2 separate regions of the Homo sapiens genome follow, and region 1 is linked to region 2. Evidence: promoter capture Hi-C in human tissues and cell types (Jung and others, 2019). All regions are on one chromosome and are shown on one strand. The core of a region is centred on a gene start or on the middle of the fragment in contact, and the rest is flanking DNA. Distances in the headings are between cores, read along the strand shown.

Region 1 (4,487 bases), core at 986-3,485, 660 kb before region 2:
TACTTTCTAAAATCAGGCTATAATAGTAAAAAACAAATTTGACATTACTTCCTTTTATGTGGCTTAAAAATATAGCCTACTAGCTAGAAATACACAAGAAAATGTTCCTAAGTCATGTAATCTAGATATGTTTTCTAAGGGTTGCTACATATAAGAAAAAAAATTTCTACAAGAATTCTAATGACTTCTACACCTGAAGGTGCATTTTCTGTAACTAATTGGTATGTGTCCTGCCAAACTTTGAACAAAGCTCTTGGTTATATAATGTATGCTACTCCTCTGTTATTTTTAGTCCTCATTGCACAGGAAATACACAAATGGAGACTATTACTTTAGCTTAGCAATTATTCATAAACAAGGTCCATGCCATTCCACATTTTGAGTAATAAGGGCTAGTCACCATGACTATGTGAGAAACCCATTGTAAACTGTGAACTTAAATCAGTATGTGTAAACTTAGAAAACCTAAGCATGAATTGGGAAAGCCCGTATGGATTCTGCTGTATTGCCCTGGGCCCATGGTGCATGGTGCTTTTGTGCTCATTCTGGCCTCAGAGAAGGTGTCTGTTGTATATGGCACAGGACAGCTCCATGAGTATAGACTTTCCATCAAATAAGTACTGTACAGTACTCTGATTTCTAAAGTTTGTGAAGTTTGTTACTTGGAACTGTGATAACCATGGCATTTCCGTTAACTGATGGGAATTCATCACTGGGTTGTTCTCTGACTCTGTGGAAGAAACTATGGTAGATAGTCCAGCATGGTGTCAGCTTACCTTTCCTGAAGGAAGAGTACACCCTTGAGTTCCTTTTGCTTTATTTGGGTGTCAGCTATGTCACTGTACTGCCATTAGACCCAGGACATCAGGAGGTCTGAACTTGACCCTTTGTGGGTATCAGATACCGTCAATACCCATGGCTGACATTCAAGACTCAGGTTTGAGTGTTGGACCCTTACATGAATAGTGATATGCACAGATAACTCTTGTCCCAAAAATTCAGCCACATTCACTGAAATCTCAAACCATGAGGTTTGTATTGCTTGTTTAGAAATTGTACCCCTGATTCTAAAAGCAGTTTTTGTCTTCGTGAGCCTTTTTGGTTTTGGGGTTTTTTTGTTTTCTGAGACAGAGTCTTGCTCTGTCACCCAGGCTGGAGTACAGTGGTGCAATCTCAGCTCACCGCAGCCTCCATCTCCCAGATTCAAGCGATTCTCATGCCTCAGCCTCCCGAGTAGCTGGGACCCCAGGCACCTGCCACCATGCCCAGCTAATTTTTGTATTTTTAGTAGAGACAGGTTTCACCATATTGGCTAGGCTGGTCTTGAACTCCTGACCTCAGGTGATCTGCCCGCCTCTGCCTCCCATAGTGCTGGGATTACAGGCATGAGCCACTGCACCTGGCCTCATGAGGCTTTTTGAACAGGAAGTAGAATTTTCAAGTTATTTTAAGAAAATTCAAGCACGAATACATTAATATAATCACTGGATTATAACATTTTAATATGCCTATAGAATGCAGTAGAGAATATAGTTTATTACTGCTTCTCTTAACATTTTTCTGTAATTTTTTCCTGAAAGAACACAAGTGGAAATAGTCTTTTAAATGAATGGTGGTTATCTATTAACTCTGAATTTTCTTTCTTTTTCTCCATTTCTCACCTTTCATTCCATTATATTACCCTGCATTTCCCTTTTATTTTATTTTTGTTTACATTAAAATGCCACTTCCCTTTTTAAATTATTTTCTGCTCAGACACTTCTGAAGTTGATTTATTTGTTATTAATGCTCCATACACTCCAGTGCCAGATCCCACTCCCATGATGCCACCAGTGGGAGTTCAGGCTTCCATTCTGAGTCATGACACCATCAGGATTACGTGGGCAGACAACTCGCTGCCCAAGCACCAGAAGATTACAGACTCCCGATACTACACCGTCCGATGGAAAACCAACATCCCAGCAAACACCAAGTACAAGGTACTGACACATTTGCCCTGGCTGAAAAAAGCTAATCATTGATACTTTCTAATTTTAAAGTCTCAATTCATGTTTTTTTCAGAATGCAAATGCAACCACTTTGAGTTATTTGGTGACTGGTTTAAAGCCGAATACACTCTATGAATTCTCTGTGATGGTGACCAAAGGTCGAAGATCAAGTACATGGAGTATGACAGCCCATGGGACCACCTTTGAATTAGGTATGTGTTGTCAGAAGCCATGTCACATGGCTGCTTTTACTTCCCAAGGAAAGAATTGAGTGCCTGAATTGACATATTTACAAAACACAGTGAGCAACTACATTTGGAATTCAGTGTTTGCTATTTCAGCTGACAAGTTGTGTGTTTTTAATTACTGAACAAGAACATTAGCAAATAACAGGATACTACAGGGAAAACATGATAAATTACAAAGCACTGGGTAGATGTAAGGGATTATTGCCATTAATCCTGCTTTACTGGTAAACTGAGATAGAAAAGATGAAGTGACCTGCCCTTGACCAGGCAGTTCCAATGCCATGCTTGCTTGGAGCCTGAACACTTTGCTGGGTGACCCCAAAGCTGCCTCTGCAGTTTGCTTGCAAGCAAATTAGCGTCTTATAAAATCTTCCACTGAAATAATCCTTAAGGTCTTTGTAAGTGGACACGAGAGGGAAAAGATGACTAAGCAAATTAAAGAGAGAACAGGCTATCTGGGTTTGAGATTCTGTTTGGTTTTTGCTGACTTTTAGACATGCCTTTCTGCTACCCCCTGGGCTTTCCTAGTCTAGGGATATGCATAACCATTTCAAATCTCTGTCTATTTTGGCCTCCTATTTCTCTCCTATATGAATAATGGAGTTATAAATTCTCCACAAACTGGGCTTGGCCTCAGTGTCTTTTTGTCTTCTGCACAGTTCACTGGACTTTGTACAGAGAGAAGGGTTGGATTTGAAGAGTTAGAAATACAGTACATCAAAGTTTAAATAGACCTTGAGTTTGCTTTCTTTGCCAACCATTTTAAGAAAATGTTTTTACTTCAATCCTAACCCATTAGATAACAAATGAGATTGTGTTTTCCCTTAGGATATTTGCATTTCACCAGGCTTCCTTACATTTTATACTAAGAGAATTCTAGTATTTTAGGAAGAGTTGAGTAAATTTAAGGATGTACTTAATTTGCTCATTTTCCTACTAGTGTGTTAAAAGTTTTCAGCTATCACATGGAAACACAGGAAACGTATTGTCCTGTTGCATAAACGAACAGCTTCACTTTAGAGCTGTAACCTCAATAGTTGGCAGTATGTTTGCAGAATAAACTCATAGTGAAAAATATTAATCTGTAAATCATCTATTCTTTGAAGAAATAGGGCTTTTAAAAGTTATATTTGGGGCTGGGAGTGGTGGCTTGCACCTGTAATCCCAGTGCTTTGGGAGGCCATGGTGGGCGGATCACCTGAGGCCAAGAGTTCGAGACCAGCCTGGCCAACATGGCGAAACCCCATCTCTACTAAAAATACAAAAATTAGCTGGATGTGGTGGTGCGCACCTGTAATCCCAGCTACTCGGTAGGCTAAGGCACGAGAATCACTTGAACCCAGGAGGCAGAGGTTGCAATGAGCAGAGATTGTGCCACTGCACTCCAGCCTGGGTGACAGAGCTAGACTCCATCTCAAAAAAAAAAAAAAAAAAACAGCTATATTTGGTTTGGAGAGCCAACTATAAATGAGAGAGAAAACTGTTTTACAATTTACAGTATTCTAACAAAATAATCCAGTGTGACAGGGAAGAAGTCATCTTGGACGAATTACATAACTTCTCTAATTTTTTGGTGTCCTGATCCATAAAGCAGAGATAGTGATAACTACCTTTCAAATTTTCTACAAATACTAAGTGAGATACTATGTGTACGTTACCTGGTATACGGTAGGTACTTGGTACAAATGCCACTTGACTTTCCTACCTAATTATCCTGTTTATCCCTGACTCCCAGCCAAGATGCCAATTCTGTATCTTCATAGTATGGTATTTCCTCTTTGGTACTCTGAATATTCTTCTTTTGATTGGAACTTTTGATAGACAAACTGTGATTTCTTTGAAGCCAGAAGCTTTATCTTTTTTGCCTTGTGCCCTTTATTTTGCCTTACAAGTGGAAAAGGTTGAAGAAATAGTGAACTAATTTGAAATGGACAGAAATTATTAAAAATTTTGTTATTTTGTAGTTCCGACTTCTCCACCCAAGGATGTGACTGTTGTGAGTAAAGAGGGGAAACCTAAGACCATAATTGTGAATTGGCAGCCTCCCTCCGAAGCCAATGGCAAAATTACAGGTAAAATGCAATCAAGTGTGCATTTCTTTGTGCGCTCTTCCTGCCTGACAGGAGTATTCCAGGAGAGTACCATGTTGCTGGGAGAAGTGGGAGTCTGAAGGCTGGCTTGGTCATTTTATGGTAAGGTGTGAGTCATGATGGTCCTTGAAATTGGGGTGAGGCTGTGCTGGTCGCCCATA
Region 2 (4,158 bases), core at 1,659-4,158:
TAGTGCCAGGAACTGGCAACAAGCTTCAAGCACATGCCTGGGTCTTAAAAATGTGGGTGTGAATCCCAGCCTGCAGGGACAGGCGGAGAGAGAAGCTGCCCTTCACCCCAGACAGCTCTGGCTCAGCTCAGCCTTCGAGTCCACGCCCTCATTTGACCCCAGCTCTGCACCCTCCATAACCTGCCCAGGTCTCTTTTAGGACCCCACCCTGCAGGTTTCAACCTAAGGATGCCAGGACACCTCCAGCCACCAAGGCAAGGCCTTGCCCAGCATGAGGAGAGGTGATGGAAGGCAGGCTCCCCTGGGCTCACAGAACTGCTGGGCCTGTCAGCCACTGCAGGAGACCTAAACCCAAGTAGAATGAGGTCAGAAGGAGGGAGTAGAGAGGAAGGGAGAGGACAGCTCTGGTGGAGGGGCCACCTCTGGCCCCCCTGCACAAGGTTCACCCTGAGCAAGGAAAGATGCTGAAGACAGATAAAAACAGGAAAGACAGAGGAAGTGGGAGTGGGGGTCAACCCCAAGAGATAAATCCCTCCCTTCTCTCACAAGTCAAGAGGAAAGAAGGAAAATAGTGGCCACATGTCTGGCTCTGTGCTGGGGACTTTTCATAATCCTCTCATTCCATCCTCTCAAATATGCCACAAGAAAGGTATGATTACCCCCAGGTCACAGACGGGACTCTGAAGCTCTGAGAGCTTAAAAAGCTTCCCCGGGGAGTGGCTGGGCCAGGCCAGGTCCCTAGCTCAAGTCATGGTGTGGACCCCCAGGTCTCCATCTCAGCAGGGATGGCTGGCAGGAGCGCAGTCCTGGCCAGGGGAGTCTGTGCAGAGGCCCAGGCTATGTTCAGAGCAGAGTTTATTCAAATAGAGCCTAACAGGAAACTTGGCTCCTCTGACTCACTCTGATTCGACCTTATTAAGAAAAAAAGAGAGAGGAGCAGGAGCCAGCATCGGGTAAGGTTTCACGCCAAGAGCTGGCTCTGAGGCCCGCTGAGTGGAATGGCATGTGCCCTGATCCCCCCACATCCAAAGCCTTGAGGCAGCCCCTGCCCTGCTGTCCGAGTCAAGGCGAGGGGTCCTGCCTTCACGTTAGGGCAACTGAGTTCCCTTCCTCACAGCCATCCTCTGTCCTCCCTCCACTCCTCTTCCCTTCCCTCCCTGCCTAGGGGTACCCTGAGGCCTGTTTCCATTTCTCCCCCTCCTCTGCTGCAGCAGCTGCCCATCTGGCTGGCGGGAGGGCCCTACAGGACCCCAGGGATTCCAAGCAGCTGAGGCCAACACTGCAGGGGGCAAGCAGGAGGGAGGGAAGGCTTAACCCTCCAGGTCCCGGCCCTCAGTAAGCCCTGCCTCAGCATCTTGCTTGGTGTCAGTCACACCAGTGGCTCTTTGGAGGAATCTTGTCTGGAGTCTGAGATGGAAACCCCATGCTGGGGAGCTGAGGTGTCAGCGTTGACAAGTTGCTGGCCAGGAGGTATTGGAAGCCCCCTACCTCTGGGCTGGATTCTGGGCATTTAAAGGGTAGAGACATGCTGGAGTCCAAGCCTCAGTCCTGAAGAACAGTGCAATGGGTGAACAAATGCTGCCTGGCAAGGATGGGGTTGGGAGGTCTATAGTTCCCAAAGAATGTCCACTCTAGTTGCCTCCTCTCTAGGTGGGCTCCAGGCATTTCCAAAATAAAGAATATACAGGAGCCAAATTAAGGACAGGTCCTTCATACCTTGTTTATAAGCCCAAGAGGGCAATTTCTGCCCTTCGGTTCCCAGGAACACGGTTGGAGAAGGCAGCCCAGGGGAGGCCAGAAGAGCAGTATTTGGAGTGTGATTTCTTGGATGCCAAAGCGTTCAAACTTCTGGGACCCCCTCCTATCCCTGCCATTCCCAGAAGGAACAGAGAATCTCCCAAAGCACTCTCAGGAGCCATCTGGCCTAATCTTCCATTGGTAAGCCGTGGCACCTGGATCAGATAGAGTAAGGGACTAAGCCACACAGCAACAGGACCAGGCCAGGTCTCCGGAACCCCCTTCTGTTGTTCAATGCTTACTGGCTTCTCTGCCTCACAGTGACCCCTGTCCCATATCAAAGACAGCCCCCAGTTTCATTTTATCCATGTGTACACTCAAGTTATTCCCAGGCTATGCAGAGCCAAGAGATGTAGGACAGAAACCATACGTGATGTCTGGGAAGTTGATCTCTCCCAGGATCTCACAAGTGCTTTTCAGCTCAGGGATACACCCCACTCTTCAGACTGGGAAAGTAAGCCCCTGAGGTGTGCCACGAGGGAAAAGGTGCAGCTCCAGTGCCTCTCTTCGCAGGCCCAAGAGCTGCGGTGCACCTGGGACCTGGAATTAGAGAGTGGTCCCTGTTCAGCATCTCCCCGAGGAGGCCCACCAACAAAGAGGGTGTGTCTTTTTTTTTTTTTTCTTCCTATTGAGGGTGTGGGATAATGGTGGAAGGAACATGCAAAGAGGGTGTGTCTTAATTAGCACTGGCTTTAGGGAACAAGGAAAAGGGAGAACCCGGGAGTACGGGAAGGAGGCTGGGGCAGACAGGAGTCAGAGGCCCATTCCAGCCCAAACGAGAAGCCAGTGAGCAAGGTGGAGACCAGGGATGCTGTGACCAAAGCAGAGAGGAATGGGCGGGGTGGTGCTGACACCCCAGCCCCGTTCTGCCTGCCAGAGCCCCACTTACCAGGCCCGAGTCCCCAGAGGTCCCCTCCTACTCCCTGCTCGATTCCCTTCCTCAGAGGCAGGTCTGTGGCTTGGCTGGGAACTCCAGGGACTGAGGGAGCACTGCAGCTGTGGGACCGGCGCATAGCTAAAAGCCGGCGGGCCATAGGGCCCCGCGGAGGAGGCCCCAGCAGGCGGACCAGGAGGCCGAAGCCTCCCGACGCTCCCAGCCTGTTGCTTATTCATTCAGAGTGGGAAAGCGCCAGCCGAGCGGCCAGCCAGTGCGGGGCTGGCCATGTAAGGCCCACAGGCGGTCCTGCCCGCCCGGTGCCCTGCGGAGAGCCTCGTGCAGCCCTGGGCACCGCCCCTGCCCTGCCCTGACCCCTTGGCCTTGAAATGCTGTCATCGGAGGAGCCGTCCCGCTCGGGACAAGGCCAGCATGGACAAAGCTAGAGCTGGGGCAAGCAAGGAGCCTTCCTGTCCTCGAGGCCGTGGGAAGAGAAGCACGCCCAGGGGGCCACTCCTGAGAGCCTCTCTGTCCACCAGGCCTCTGCAGAGGGGTCACCATGGCTCTGGCCCGAGGCAGCCGGCAGCTGGGGGCCCTGGTGTGGGGCGCCTGCCTGTGCGTGCTGGTGCACGGGCAGCAGGCGCAGCCCGGGCAGGGCTCGGACCCCGCCCGCTGGCGGCAGCTGATCCAGTGGGAGAACAACGGGCAGGTGTACAGCTTGCTCAACTCGGGCTCAGAGTACGTGCCGGCCGGACCTCAGCGCTCCGAGAGTAGCTCCCGGGTGCTGCTGGCCGGCGCGCCCCAGGCCCAGCAGCGGCGCAGCCACGGGAGCCCCCGGCGTCGGCAGGCGCCGTCCCTGCCCCTGCCGGGGCGCGTGGGCTCGGACACCGTGCGCGGCCAGGCGCGGCACCCATTCGGCTTTGGCCAGGTGCCCGACAACTGGCGCGAGGTGGCCGTCGGGGACAGCACGGGCATGGCCCGGGCCCGCACCTCCGTCTCCCAGCAACGGCACGGGGGCTCCGCCTCCTCGGTCTCGGCTTCGGCCTTCGCCAGCACCTACCGCCAGCAGCCCTCCTACCCGCAGCAGTTCCCCTACCCGCAGGCGCCCTTCGTCAGCCAGTACGAGAACTACGACCCCGCGTCGCGGACCTACGACCAGGGTTTCGTGTACTACCGGCCCGCGGGCGGCGGCGTGGGCGCGGGGGCGGCGGCCGTGGCCTCGGCGGGGGTCATCTACCCCTACCAGCCCCGGGCGCGCTACGAGGAGTACGGCGGCGGCGAAGAGCTGCCCGAGTACCCGCCTCAGGGCTTCTACCCGGCCCCCGAGAGGCCCTACGTGCCGCCGCCGCCGCCGCCCCCCGACGGCCTGGACCGCCGCTACTCGCACAGTCTGTACAGCGAGGGCACCCCCGGCTTCGAGCAGGCCTACCCTGACCCCGGTCCCGAGGCGGCGCAGGCCCATGGCGGAGACCCACGCCTGGGCTGGT

Evidence for each region. The method cuts DNA at HindIII sites, captures the fragments that hold promoters and counts their contacts. A contact is called where the count stands out against the background at its distance.
Region 1: a fragment that was not itself captured here is called in contact with the fragment with the promoter of LOXL1 in region 2 in 1 of the 25 tissues and cell types used here (lymphoblastoid cells).

The regions. Positions count from the first base shown.
Region 1 is chr15:73,268,255-73,272,741 of GRCh38, forward strand. NEO1 (neogenin 1) reads left to right here. Exons shown (of 29, transcript NM_002499.4): 17 at 1,756-1,979; 18 at 2,062-2,200; 19 at 4,201-4,308. Among named protein-coding and RNA genes, the nearest start is that of MIR12135, 29 kb to the right of the region's middle. The HindIII fragment of the contact is 6,003 bases long and covers 1-4,487 here.
Region 2 is chr15:73,923,554-73,927,711 of GRCh38, forward strand. It overlaps LOXL1 (lysyl oxidase like 1), which reads left to right and starts at 2,909. Exons shown (of 7, transcript NM_005576.4): 1 at 2,909-4,158. The coding sequence starts at 3,231. The region is part of intron 1 of LOXL1-AS1 (LOXL1 antisense RNA 1); the gene reads right to left. RefSeq lists enhancers at 1-376, 3,415-4,158 and a silencer at 4,157-4,158. The HindIII fragment of the contact is 8,654 bases long and covers 364-4,158 here.